Linked DNA regions of Homo sapiens: regions 1, 2 and 3 are each linked to region 4. The links are contacts of gene promoters, found by promoter capture Hi-C in blood cells and fetal thymus (Javierre and others, 2016). All regions are on one chromosome and are shown on one strand. Each heading gives the region's core, a stretch centred on a gene start or on the middle of the fragment in contact. The rest is flanking DNA. Distances are from core to core; before and after follow the strand shown.

Region 1 (3,294 bases), core at 200-2,699, 130 kb after region 4:
CTGATGGTTAATTTTCAAATGTATCTTCCTCCTCTGCTTTTCTGTGGGTGCCAACAAATAGAATGGTGGGTTTGTTTGTTATTCTTAACTCCTTTGGCTGGCTTTAAACATGTTCTCTTTTTAGCCTTATTTTTCTAAAAGCTTAGTGCAGAAATTTCTTGTTTGGCTTCCACTCTTCAGGGTGTGATAATTCCCAAGGTCTCTCTCTAGCTCCTCAGGAATGTACCCCCCTGATGGACTGAAATTTGTCCACTCCAGTGAAATTGTTTGGGGGAGAAGGGAGCAGAGTACACGTTCAAGATGTTTTCTCCCAGCATTTGTCTGTTGATGAGCTTTTGTAATTTCCATTTCACTGTCCTTGCCCCAGAGGATAACCTTGGATCTCAGTGTAGACTAGATTGAGTGTAAAATGAGTTAGCACAAATGAAGTGGAAACAGATCAGCGTGTGAGGAGGAGGCTCAGACGCTAAATCCTCTAGTTGGGTAAAGTTGAAAGCATTTTCCTCAGAGCCTCCCTGGGAATGCTTGTCCTATTTCTCAGAGAAATAAGCTACTGTGTGCATGTTGTTGCTGTTGATGCCTTTGACATTTGTGCTTAGCGAAGTGGAGGGTTCTGTGGGGGATACCAAAAAATTGCCCTAATCTCTGTCCTCAGGAATCTTATTGAGAAGGGGAGATGACCTGATTGCTAGACATCCATCTAGCTTCCCTCTGCTAGGCACGAGATGTACAAAGGTTTAAAAAGAGCCATGAATGCTAACTTCTTGGCTTACAGCTTAGCAGGGAACTCAGCCATGACTTGTAATACAGTGGGATCAGTACTACCATGGCAGCATCAACAAGAAACAAGTGCGATCTCATAGCCCTGCGCAAGTAGTGAACTACCAGCAAAGTCGGAGAGGCTTCATAGAGAAGGGGAGTTGAGCAGAGTTCTGAAAAGACTCCCCTCTGACTAGTGGGACAGGGCATTCGTGCAGGCAAGAACACCCTGTGCGAAGGCACTGAGGTGTGAAGCAGCCTGGTGTGTTGGTGAGTGCTCCACAAGAGCCATGTCAGACCTCAATTCAGTGCTATTTTGTGTGTTGCAGGCAGGAGGTTCAAAGGAGCCCGAGAGCAGGAAGGCTGACCAAGCCAGATTTGGAAATACTTGGCTGGGATGTTCCTGGTCAGTGGGCTATTTGGGCAAAGTGGTTAAAGTGGGACAAAGGCACAGGGAAGGAATCCATGGAGGGAAGGGGAGAAATGGCTCCTTTAGTATCTTGAATGAGGCTTTTGGATGTGAGTCCAGGTACAGTGCTATAGTTTAATTGCTTTTGCTTCTGTTTCTTTAAGGATACATTGCACTTAAACCCCAGTAATTATTCCAGATTTTGTTAGTGGATATATCCCCACCCCCCATCTGGCTCAAGCTAAGCAGTTGGCATAAGTAGGGGAACAGAAGGCTCAGAATTGTCCACTGGAAGTACTCGGCTTTTCTTTGGAGAGATCAGGTTTCTTCCATGGGAAAATGATGTCAACACACTTATCTTAGCACTTTGCCTCGAGGGCACCTGTGGGCTTGCGCCTAGAGCAAAGGAAAGGGGTTCCCTAAAACTTCCTTTCTGTTTTGGGAACATGGAGATGTGATAGAATATCCCTGATAAAAGCATCAGTTTATGGTGGAGGTGAGAGTTTATGACCAGGACCAGAAAGTTGCTAGAAAGGTTGCTAAGTGGAGAATTATGGTTGGTTATTTTCAGGAAGCAACTTAATGTTGTGGGAAGAAGCACTGGACTAGGATTTGGGAAATTTGAGGTCTAATCTTGATTTTACCTTAACTAATAAGATGATCTTGATCTTTCTGAGCCATGGTTTCCTAACAGGCAAATAAGGAGACTGGTTAGGAGACTCAAGAGAGCATATAGCAGGTGTGGTAAACCATGCAGCACTTTATAGTGTGAGGACTGTCTGAACCCTGTCACTTGGCGCCTCCATCCGGACACCACGTGTGCCCTCCTGCCCGCTGCGGGGGAGGACATGCCCCTGATGGGTCTGGGCTGCACTGGCCTCTGGGTGACTCATTGGCGTTTTGTAAACCACCTTATCTTTGAAGAAAATGTTTTCCACTACTAGTAAAATTTCTTTCTTTTCTGTCTTTATTTGTTTCTCTTTAAAGTTTTCTTAAACTGAGCTAACTTCAAAGAAGTATCTGGAATTCTCTTCTTCCTCCTTAACCACTTATAGCCCCCTTATCCCCAGTCATCATTGTAGTATATCTAATTGTTGGTGGATATAATGTGGGCCACTTTGGATTTGAGTAGTCAAAATCAGAGCCTGGCTAGTAATTGGGTTTGAAGGAGAGTTGAGCTGAAGTCATCTCATGAAACAAAAATGGCAAAAGACCATCCTATTAACACTGGACTTCCTTTGTCTTCCTTCATAAGATCCCTCAGGCTTTCCTTAGTATTAAGGAGCAGGGGGAGAAGACGGTGGCATATACTGCCCTTTAAATATGGCATTTCTGAACTTAGCTCTCCTTGTACTTTATCAAGTGAGTTGTCTTCCTCTCTCAACTAGATCCAAAGAAACATGGCAGCCTCTGCAGTCCCCGTGAAGTGCTGTGAGTGGGATGCCAGCAATAAAATCATGTCTTTCTATGGATTTTTGGTTGGTGTTCTAAGGCTTGCCGCTTCTCTTCCTAATAAGCCTGCACCGATTTTGTCCCTGAAGATTTGAGGCTGTGAAATATTCTTCCTTCTTCCTGCCTCCTCCAGTCTGGGAAGCTTCACTTATAGCCAGAGGGCTGAGTGAGGTACAGCTACTCCTACAATGAGGCAAGCCTTAGTGTTCTTGGCTTGCTTCACTGTGTTTCTGACACTGCCTTACCTTAACTCTTGAGTAAGCCCCGTTTCCTGGGCAGAATCTCACTTCTCCTTTCTTGCTGGTCATTTGGCTCTTTTTTTTCTGACAAGAGCTGGATCTTGCTTGTTTACCATCTACCCCAGCACCTTATTCTTTTTTCTTGGAAGTGCCAACATATTCCTCTACGTGCTGAACCTGTTCAGTAATTCTTGTTGGATTGTCATTCCTTTGGCAAACTGAAATGAAACACACAAATCTCAAAATAGATGTAACCAGACTCCTCAAACTTAATAAATACCGTATGTGCTTACACTAGGAATCTTGCTTGTCCCGTTTGTTAACGGGTACTTCACCCCACTCTCCTGCCTCCTGCTTCTTCCCTCGGCCCCTGTTTCCTACAAATCGAAGGCTGACAGAGCTTTTCCCCTGTGAATGCTGCTGACTTTACCAGCA
Region 2 (3,611 bases), core at 301-2,800, 140 kb before region 4:
AGAGACAACATCTCACTATGTTGTCCAGGCTGGTCTGAAACTCCTGGGCTCCAGCAATCCTCCTGTCTTGACCTCCCAAAGTGTTGGGATTACAGGTGTGAGCCACTGCATCCAGCTAATTTCAAAGAATATTAAGATCAATGTATAGATGATATATACGTAATGAGTTGCTAGGAAAAAATAGAGGACAGTGTTTTTCAACAAAGCATCTCCATGGTCTGTGGTAGAGCCAAACCTGAGATGCTGAAAGCAGATGTCACATGGAATTAAGTACATTGCTGTATTCACCTAAATATCCTGTTTGCGAATCTTAATACACAACAAAATTACTCCATTAGGACTAACCTTCAGTCATAAGATTCCATATTCCATCTTCCTTATTCCACTTACTCAAAATGAGAACAACCATTGCTTTGTAAATTCATTAGCACCTTAGTAGAATCCAGGCCCATCCCTGGTTAGAGAAATGGCAAAATGAAACCCTAAGTGTAACAAATGAATGACTTTACCACACAAATACTCAACACATGTATTCCCTGTTCTGGCTTCAGTTAGAAAATAAAATGTTTGTGATTTTTGTGTTCATAAAGGGATCTGGAGGCTTAAAAAAAAAGAAAAATGGGCCCTGCACAATGGCTAATGCCTGTAATCCCAGCACTTTGGGAAGCCAAGATGGGAGGATCATTTGAGGCCAGGAGTTCGAGACCAGCCTAGCCAACATGGTGAAAACCCGTCTCTACTAAAAATATAAAAATTAGCCAGGTGGGATGGTATGTGCCTGTAGTCCCAGCTACTGGGGTGGCTGAAGCATAAGAATCACTTGAACCCAGGAGGTTGTAGTGAGCCAAGATCATGCCACTGCACTCAAGCAACGATGTCAGAGCAAGACTGTGTCTTGAAAACAAAACGGAACAAAACAAACAAACAAGACAAATGAAAAATATATCTCTGCTTTAGCTAGTTCCCAAATACCTTTTTTCAAAAGCCTTTTGACTACATCTAATCTAACTATAATACAAATCAGGCTGTGATATTGGGCCAGAGCTAAGAAAAGGATAGTTTTAAAGTACTCCACCATAATCTGTAGTTGACACTTTTTAGTTATGACGACATGAGGTGTTAATATCTGTTTCATAATAATCTGTCCAGTACCACTCATTTAGCCAAATCAAACAACATTGAGATGGCTTTTCAGGTTTTTTTATGCAAAGATTTGCATGACATGCAAGACAATGAAAACAAAGTGTTTAGATATTTTTCACAAATTATCTTAATGTTCTTAAGACATGCAAAGAGAGTGGAACACAGAAGAGGCTCTTCAGAGCATTTAACTTTTTTTTTTTTTTTGAGACAGGCTCTTGCTCTGTCACCAGGACTGGAGCGCAGTGACGCGATCATGGGTCACTGCAGCCTCAACCTCCTGGGCTCAAGCAGTCCTCCCACCTCAGCTTCCTGTGTGTCTGGGACTACTGGCATGTGCCACCATGGCTGGTCAATTAATTTTAAACTTTTTTTTGTGTGTGTGTGGAGATACGTTCTCACTGTGTTGCTCAGGCTGGTTTTGGAACTCCTAGGCTCAAGTGATCCTCCTGCCTTGGCCTCCCAAAGTCCTGGGATTACAGGTGTGTGCCCGGCCTGATTTTTTAAGCAACACAATCAAGTATAAATGATTTCGAATCACTGGAAACAATATGACTCAAAGGACTTTGAAGCTATAATTTTACAGACATGTATACAAGGTCTACAATAATCAGAGCCTTGTGTCTGTTTTACCCTTCCCACAACTCAAAGGAAAGTTGAGGAAAGATCTCAGGAGATGTGCAGGAGCCAGTAGAAATGTGATCTGAGGAACAAGTGCAGACTCTTGCTGAGAAGTAGAGGCAAGGGCAGCACCAAAGAAGCAAAAGTAGGCATCTGTCTAGTCCAGAGGGAAAGACTACAGAAAGAAGACTGGTCAACAAGTCAAGAGCAAGGAGACAAAGAGCAGGCTGGCAAACTAGTATGAGACAAGACAGGGCAAGAAACTAGAGGCTTTTTCCGGAGGGATGCTGCAGGTTTATACACCTGCAGAGAGTAAAGACAGACACTCTGGAAGATAAGAATAGCATCAAACAGTATAAAATGAGGTTGCTGATCTTAAGAAATGGACACTATAGTTGGAGAGACAGGGTTTACACCAATGGAAAGAGAAATAACACCGAACAATAATTCAAGTGGTGTTGCAAAACCTTGTATGATTAGTTAAATACCAAATTATTAGTCAGGGAAGGCTTCAAAGTAGAGAGGAGCTTTGAGTTCAGTCTTTGATGAATGAGAAGAGTTCAAAGAGGTAAAACAAATACGGGGATTAACAGAGTTAATAAAAGGAAGGGGTTCGAAATATATCTGGTATAAGATCAACTAAATGAAATAAAGCATGAAGACAAGATTAGAAAAAAAAGAATGAAAAGGAATGAACAAAGCCTCCAAGAAATATGGGACTATGTGAAAAGACCTAACCTCAGTGATGGGGAGAATGGAACCAAGTTGGAAAACACTCTTCAGGATATTATCCAGGAGAACTTCCCCAACTTAGCAAGACAGACCAACATTCAAATTCAGGAAATACAGAGAACACCACAAAGATACTCCTCGAGAAGAGCAACCCCAAGACACACAATCGTCAGATTCACCAAGGTTGAAATGGAGGAAAAAATGTTAAGGGCAGCCAGAGAGAAAGGTCAGGTTACCCACAAAGGGAAGCCTGTCAAACTAACAGTGGATCTCTTAGCAGAAACCCTGCAAGCCAGAAGATAGTGGGGGCCAATATTCAACCTTCTTTTTTTTTTTTGAGGCGGAGGCTCACCCTGTCACCCAGGCTGTAGTACAGTGGCGTGATCTCAGCTCACTGAACCTCCACCTCCTGGGTTCAAGCGATTCTTCTGCCTCAGCCTCCCGAGTAGCTGGGACTACAGGCACGCAACACCCTGCCTGGCTAATTTTTCTATTTTTAGTAGAGACGGGGTTTCACCATATTGGCCAGACTGGTCTCGAGCTCCTGACTTCGTGATCCACCTGCCTCAGCCTCCCAAAGTACTGGGATTACAGGTGTGAGCCACCACGCTCAGCCTCAACATTCTTAAAGAAAAGAATTTTCAACCCAGAATTTCATATCCAGCCAGACTAAGCTTCATAAGCGAAGGAGAAATAAAATCATTTACAGACAAGCAAATGCTGAGATATTTTGTCACCACCAGGCCAGCCTTACAAGAGCTCTGAAGGAAGCACTAAATATGGAAAGGAAAAACTGGTACCAGCCACTACAAAAACATACCAAATTGTAAAGACCATCGACACTATGAAGAAACTGCATCAACTAATGGGCAAAATAACCAGCTAGCATTATAATGACAGGATCAAATTCACACATAACAATATTAACCTTAAATGTAAATGGGCTTAATGCCCCAATTAAAAGACATGGACTGGCAAACTAGATAGAGTCAAGACCAACTGGTATGCTGTATTCAGGAGACCCATCTCATGTGCAAAGACACACATAGGCTCAAAATAAAGGATGGAGGAATATTTACCAAGCAAATGGAAAGTTAAAAAAAGCAGAGGTTGCAATC
Region 3 (3,631 bases), core at 132-2,631, 150 kb after region 4:
ACAGTGAGCCATGATGGTGCCCCTGCACTCCAGCCTGGGTGACAGAGTGAGACCCTGTCTCTAAAACATAAAATGAAAAGAGAGCTATCAATGGCTTTAGGATTTGGGCTGTAAACAGTGATACAGAAGAGATGAACTTTGCGAAAGAATAAAAGATGCTCTTAGGGATTGGGGAGTGTCTGGTGCATTAATGGTTCCTGTCTTGGGAAAAAGCTGTGTGTAGCAATGTTCTTGGGTGTTCACAGTAGCTCTTGTATATGAGACGTGGTCATTTTCAAGGTTGTTCACCAGTGGTAGAAGAATAGATGGCATTTGATGCTTGTTATTTTATACTTTTAACTTTTAAAATTATTCTGTAATTTAAAAATATTCTGGGGCTGGGCATGGTGGCTCCCAGCACTTTGGGAGTCCAAGGTGGGAGGATTGCATGAGCTTAGAAGTTTGAGATCATTCTGGGCAACACAGTGAGACCTGATGTCTACAAAATAATGTTAAAAATTAGCCATGCATGGCCGGGCACGGTGGCTCACGCCTGTAATCCCAGCACTTTGGGAGGCCAAGGCGGGCAGATCACGAGGTCAAGAGATCAAGACCATCCTGGCCAACATGATGAAACCCCGTCTCTACTAAAAATACAAAAATTAGCCAGGCATGGTGGTGTGCACCTGTAGTCCCAGCTACTTGGAAGGCTGAGGCAGGAGAATCGCTTGAACCTGGTGGTGCACACCTGTGGTCCCAGCTACTCGGGAGGCTGAAGTGGGAGGATCGCTTGAGCCCAGGAGGTTGAGCCGTGATTGTGCCACTGCACTCCAGCCTGGGGGACAGAGTAAGACTCTCTGCCTGTCATAGATAGATAGATAGATATAGTTTTCAACCTCTAACTGGTTTTGTGTGTGTGTGTGTTGACAATTTATCTGATGGTTCTTTGAAAACTGAAAATGTGTCCTTCATTCCAACATTATACATTTAAAAAATCGAATGTTTTAACATAAATATGGGAGGAGTACTCCATGAAGGTGAAAGCCAGTGATTCTCCTTGAAGAAGGGTATTGTTCTGTGCTAGCGGCATCTCCATTTCGCCTAGCAATTGTAGCAGAATAGAGACTGCATCCCCTCTCATTCTACAGGTAAAGAATAGTTTGAAGAGAAAGCTTAGTGATTTCACTGCCAAAAGAAAGCTTTTAACAAAATTGCTTATTAAACCACACCTCAGGCTGTGCAGGGACATGGGAGGAGCGTGCAATTTCTGAAAAAGAATATTTAGAGGAGGATTTTATTGTATAATTGGCAAACTTCTCATCTCCGAGAATAATTGCTTGATTTCATGGAAAGGACCAGAACTTGGGTATCTTGAGGCCTAAGATAAATAGATAGCAACGGATCATGCTAGTCCCCATGGTTACTGGGAACTGAGCTCAAGTGGATTGTTATCCTGAACAAGTCTGTGTCAGGATATTCTTGTCACCTTTCAGCTCTTTGGTATTTGCTCTCTTTCTTGAATCAGCAAAAGAAATCGCTGTAAAGTTAATGTAATTTACGGGAAGTTCCCGTGCCACACTGCATGCTTTTGTGTGTCACAAGACTTAAGCTTCCTGCTACCCTCTGTTAAAGGAGAACTTTTTATGTTCCTAACAATATACGATTCTTTCAGGAGCTATTTACATAGCTGGGTTGGTTAATAGACAACTGGGGACTGGGCTATAAGCATTTTGACCTGGAAATATTTCTTTGGGGTTATGTGAACTACTGTACAATAAAACCTCAATTAACTAGGATTACTTGGAGAAAAGACAGTTTCTGGTTGAATTTTCTTTTAAATGGAAGGTTAAACACTTTCCTTTTCTCAACCCTTCTTATTCACTTTCTTCCTTTGGCTTTTGGAATTCAGATGTTAAGATCTTGAAAATAAGTTAATGTTTCATTGAGTTAGTCCGTAACAGTGCTTTGGAACATCCTTGAGTTATGAAGCTTGTTATTCAGGCTTTACTTTCTTCAGAGGATTAAGAGGCTTGAACGTGGCTGCTAAGTTCTCTAAGTTGTTTTCTGGGGGGAAGAATAAATTTTTCTGTGTAATTTTGTTTTCTTGTATCTTTATCAGATTCAGAATAAAAAAGCTATCGTAACATGCCCTGCATCAGTAGGCCTTGTTAGTTACGTAATCCTACTATTTGAGGGTTTAGGAATATTCTAGCAAAATATAACAGAAATGAGCCGTTAGTAAATTGCTTAACTTAAAATATTTAGTTTTCTTCTGTGTGTGTTAAAGTCAAGTTATATTAATTTAATAGGCAGTTGGGTTGGCTCTTTTGCATAATCCAGACAATATATGGATCCCACAAATATTTATTGAGTATATACTCTGTGTTCTTCATATACCATGTTAGGCAGTTTTGTAATATCAGTAATGAGACCAGCATAAGTGTATTAACCTCTGATAACCTTCACATAAATCTTATATTCTACAGCAATGAAAACTTGTCCCTAAGGGACTTTGTGGTCACAGCAGTTCTGATTTCCTTGTTTGAAATTTTTGTAAACTTTCCAACTTCTTTGTTTTGCACTCAGTACTTAAAAATAAATTTAATGCCAGAAGTAAAAGTACTATTATTTTCATCAATCATAAGTTATAGATAACAAAAACTCAGAAATTTTTCTTGAACATAGGTAGGGAACTTAGGTGAAAGGACTGCTTTAATTCCATCTAAAAGATAAAACCTAATACTGACTTACAAATATGTTGCTAAGAGTTTAGTGTCTCCAAGTAAAGGTAGAAATTTTACATTATCTATCAATGATATCGGCGAAAACTAAAATTATTAGGAAGTAAGCTAAGAATAATTTATAGTCTAGATTTTTAACTTAAAAGTGGAACCAATTTCCAATGGTTTCTTCCCTTAGTTCTTGAGTTAGCCATACTGTGACCATTAAAAAACATCTTTAAAATGTATGTGAAAAAACCTGAAGAAAATGTGGCAAAGGGTAAGATTTGATAAGAAATGGGTCTAGGTTTATAGGGAATGCATTATAGTCTTTATAGTTATGTGTGTTTGAAATATAATAAAACACTTTTAGATGAATTCTTTCTTTTTTTTTTTTTTCCTTTTTGAGACACAGTCTCACTCTGTTGCCCAGGCTGGAGTGCAGTGGTGTGATCTTGGCTCACTGCAACCTCCATCTCCTGGGTTCAAGTGATGCATGTGCCTCAGCCTCTGGAGTAGCTGGGATTACAGGCGCACACCACCACACCAGCTAATTTTTGTATTTTTAGTAGGAGACGGGGTTTCACCATGGCTGGTGTTGAACTCCTGACCTCAAGTGATACGCCCACCTCGGCCTCTCAAAGTGCTGGGATTACAGGTGTGAGCCACAACGCCTGGCTAGATGAATTATTTCCTTTAGAAATTATTTTCTGTGTATCTGCAAAAGTGTTTCATTTTAGTACTGTGAAATGAATAGGCCCTATGCTGGGTCCTGTTGGGGTTTGTGATTTATAGATGGTAAAATACATTTCACACTTACAAGATGAAGCAATCTACCTCTATATAAAGAGCTTGCCTGTGGGTGGTTGTAGCAAGTGTCTTCTTATTATTTCACAATTGAGGGCAAGAGAGAGGTCAGACCATTGGTGAAA
Region 4 (3,586 bases), core at 633-3,132:
AAGTTCTTTTGGTTCATAGATTTGCACACTTTTTCCTTGGCTTCCCTCGAAGTGTGAGCTTATGAGAGAGACTAGATGTGATAAGACGTAAGGGGAGAAAAAGGTCTTGGTTACTGGCAGAAATATAGCCGCAGGGAGACATAAATGTAATCAAAAAGGCTTTCTCAACTGCAGAAAAGAATTCCAGCCTTTTTTATCCAGATGGGCAACCCTCTGGGTGGGCTGATTTTGTGAGTCAATCAGATCCAAAGTATATGTCTAGAGATTACAAGGAAATAAATACATTTGTGGGTCAGAAATGTTTCACCTGGTCCGAACTGCTTTCTTTCTCTCTCATTTTCATTAGTTTGGAGTGTGTGTGTATCTAAACCGCCCTGCTTTTCTCTCAGATCAGTAACACATTTGCTATTAACTTTGATACAACACTGCTTTAGAAATACAGGTTACAGTTATTCAGAATTTTAAGTTGAATTTATTTATACTGTCTCCATTCTTTAAAGACTAGAAGTGGTTTAATAGAACATACATGATGTATTTGTGTGTATTTGTGTCATATGCTTTTGGAAAAAGTCACTTGTCAATTCCACAAATAGTTCTTGGGCGTCTACTATGTTTAAAGTATCTTGAAGTTTATAAAGATGAATGAAATGTCCTTGATTGAATCTTGGTGTACTACCTTGTCCAGAAACACTTGCTATTTACTAAAAGGATAACAACCTTACCTGCATATCAAAATCACCTGGGGAGCTTGTTGAAAATACACCGGCCCAGGCTTCGGCTCTCAGCTTAGGGAGATTCTGATAATACGCAGAGCCCAAGGTGTGTGTAGTTTTAACAAAAAGCTTCCCAAGCGAATCTGATACACATCTAGGATTAAGAAACACTGCTTTAAACTAAGAAAGGACTAACTGCAGAAGTTCAGCCACAAGTCAACCAGATGTATGCCCTTAACATTCACATGAGCAGTTGGCTAAAGTCTCTTATAAGGCTATTTCTATTTCCGAGGTTTCAGAACGGGTAGTTATAGTCTGAAATACACCCCAGAGGACAGAGTCAGGTCCAATCTTTTCTGTAAGACACCTTGCTCAAGACTGCTGTGAAGGAATAAGAGAGCTGCAGCCAAAGATCATCCCAAAGTCTCCCAGAACACTCTATCATTATATCCATCTCACATGAAATATGGGTGTGTACATTTTTTCCTTCACTAGATTGGCAAGTATTCCAGCGCAGGGCAAATCTCTTTTTTCTCCCACCAAGGAACACAATATCCCATACATAATAGGTGTTTGACAGGTTTTTTTTTTAAATTGAATTGAATCCTTACCTAGCTCCTAGGGTCTGACTATATATACCCATAAATTATACATCTGTTTATAAAACATTTCAATCACACCAAAGAACATATATATGGAAGAAAGAACGATAAACAAGCACCCATGGACCCACCCCCCCGTTTATGAAACAGAACTTTGCCAGTGCTTTCGAAGTTCCTTACTGAACTAGATCTTTTAAAAACAGCAACGATTTTCTGAATTTTAATCAGAAGGCATGCATTCCTTCATTCATTGATTCGATTCCGTCATGGTCAGACCCGCCTACCAAGTGTCAACATGATATACACGATGTAAGTATTCCACTGTTGGGGTGAGGAGGGTCAAAAGTGACAATATGCTATCTCCAGAGACTACGGATCGCCTTTGCTGCAAATGGTCCCAACCCGGCCTGGCGCTCTAGAGCAGGCGTGGTTTCTGCGCGCGGACACTTTGGAGAGAAACTACGCGTCCCGGCAGTCCGCGGGGCGAGTGGGCGGAGCCGGGCCGGGGGCGGGGGCCGGGCGCCGGGCGAGAGGTGGCATTGTGTAGGGGAGCGCGGAGCTGCATTTGTCTGCTCCAGGTGCTAGCCAGGCAGGCGCAGCCGTGGCCGGCTAGGGCTGGAAGTGTCAGCGGCGGCCGCGGGCCCGGCAGAAGGCCGAGTAGGAGGGACCACGCGCCGGGGGCCGCGATCTCTGGCAGGGGGCGGTGTGCCAGCGGAGCACCATGCACATAGGCGCCCAGCGCCCCAACTACCCCTCCCGAGGAAAAGAGGCCGGGGCCGCGCTGGGGCGGCGGAGAGCATGAGGGAGGCCGGGGGGCGGCTCGGCTTGGAGCGCTGCTAGGGAGCGGTGCGCGCCGCACACCCGCCTGGGCGCGGCGGAGGGCGGGGAGCCGGGCAGGTCGCGCCTGCGGGCGGCAGCCGACCGCCGGGAGCTGTTCTGATTTCCGACGCGCACGCTAGGGGCCCGGAGCAGCCCCCGGCCCCGGCGCGCCGCCGACATGGGCAACGCAGGGAGCATGGATTCGCAGCAGACCGATTTCAGGGCGCACAACGTGCCTTTGAAGCTGCCGATGCCAGAGCCAGGTGAACTGGAGGAGCGATTTGCCATCGTGCTGGTAAGTGCGCGGCGGCGGTCGGGCGCGGGGACCCGGGGCCCCGGGCCGGGCGGCGCAGCTGACCCCCGCCCCTCCCCTTCACCCCGTGCCGGGAGCGAGCCTCCATTCCCGAGGGGGAGGCTCCCGCTTTCCCCTTTGTGGCCCCCCAGCACTCCTCTTCACCCCCCTGGCAGTCCCCCGCGCTCAGTCTCTCGGGGTCCCGGGATGGGGATGGGGGCTCAGGGCCGGCTGCCCAACCAGCCTCGAACCCATTGTCTGGCTGGAGAGGCACCTCACGGCGCGTGTGCCCGGGAGGTGCGGCGTGGGCGTGAAGAGAAGGTGGCGCGGGCTGGGAGGAGGAGGTGGCGAGCCGCTTAGGCTTTTTTTTTAAAAAAAACAAAACAAAACAAAACAAAACAAAACACCCTGAGCCCCTGCGGACCATCCCTCGGGCGGCCAGCCCGGGACCTGCGAAGTCCCCGGCAGATGGGGCGCATGTGGCCGGCCGCGGGCGCCGCGCCGGGCGGTGAGCGGAGGCGAACTTGGAGGGCTCACGTCGCGGCTTGGCCAAGGGGAGCTTCCCCGAAAGGGAAAGCGGAGACCCACAGCAGTGCGGCGCCCCGGCCCTTGGCGAGGAGCAGGGGCATCTGAAACCCAGGCCGGGGAGAACCTCAGCGCGTTCCCTCTAGACTTAAATCTTAAACCACAAAAATGTGGAGTTTTGCGGGGACGTGTTGCGAGCTGTCCTGACTGCACGGGCGACCCCTCCCCTCCTCTTGCACGCCCAGCCAGGTCCCCCGCTCCCTCCTGCATTCCGCTTCTCCCAGCTTTCCAGCTCCTCAAATCCAGGACTCTGAAAACTCCCCTCTTTCTCCCTTTCCTGCTGGGACAGTGTCTGGGCCCCTCCCAGCCGAGGCTTGTGCTGTGAGCTGCAGAGGGTGTGGCGGCTTGCCCCAGCCAGGATCTGGACTGCTGTTGGTCCCCCAGACTACCAGTTTTAGTGTCCCAGCCTCTTCTAAGGGATGTTGGGAGGGACACACACAGGCGAGATTGGGCTCATTCCTACTCCTGACACTTGGACACTTCTCTTTTCCTAGTTGGTTACCTCTAAACTCCACAAGACTAGGCAGCAAGGGAAACTCGTGATCCGGGCAGCCAACGATTGTGCCTGCCTGCGG

Evidence for each region. The method cuts DNA at HindIII sites, captures the fragments that hold promoters and counts their contacts. A CHiCAGO score of 5 or more calls a contact.
Region 1: a fragment that was not itself captured here is called in contact with the fragment with the promoter of FMNL2 in region 4 in 5 of 17 cell types (M2 macrophages, M0 macrophages, M1 macrophages and 2 more); the score reaches 11.3 in M2 macrophages.
Region 2: a contact is called between a fragment that was not itself captured here and the fragment with the promoter of FMNL2 in region 4, in 4 of 17 cell types (M1 macrophages, endothelial precursors, M0 macrophages and 1 more). The highest score is 17.7, in M1 macrophages.
Region 3: a fragment that was not itself captured here is called in contact with the fragment with the promoter of FMNL2 in region 4 in 5 of 17 cell types (M2 macrophages, M0 macrophages, endothelial precursors and 2 more); the score reaches 8.9 in M2 macrophages.

The regions. Positions count from the first base shown.
Region 1 is chr2:152,464,245-152,467,538 of GRCh38, forward strand. All of the region lies in intron 1 of FMNL2 (formin like 2), which reads left to right. Among named protein-coding and RNA genes, the nearest start is that of FMNL2, 130 kb to the left of the region's middle. The HindIII fragment of the contact is 2,621 bases long and covers 140-2,760 here.
Region 2 is chr2:152,191,015-152,194,625 of GRCh38, forward strand. No RefSeq gene overlaps it. Among named protein-coding and RNA genes, the nearest start is that of STAM2, 17 kb to the left of the region's middle. The HindIII fragment of the contact is 3,230 bases long and covers 1-3,165 here.
Region 3 is chr2:152,484,701-152,488,331 of GRCh38, forward strand. All of the region lies in intron 1 of FMNL2 (formin like 2), which reads left to right. Among named protein-coding and RNA genes, the nearest start is that of FMNL2, 150 kb to the left of the region's middle. The HindIII fragment of the contact is 410 bases long and covers 1,177-1,586 here.
Region 4 is chr2:152,333,292-152,336,877 of GRCh38, forward strand. It overlaps FMNL2 (formin like 2), which reads left to right and starts at 1,883. Exons shown (of 26, transcript NM_052905.4): 1 at 1,883-2,429. The coding sequence starts at 2,313. RefSeq lists silencers at 1,683-2,332, 2,843-2,942. The HindIII fragment of the contact is 3,556 bases long and covers 841-3,586 here.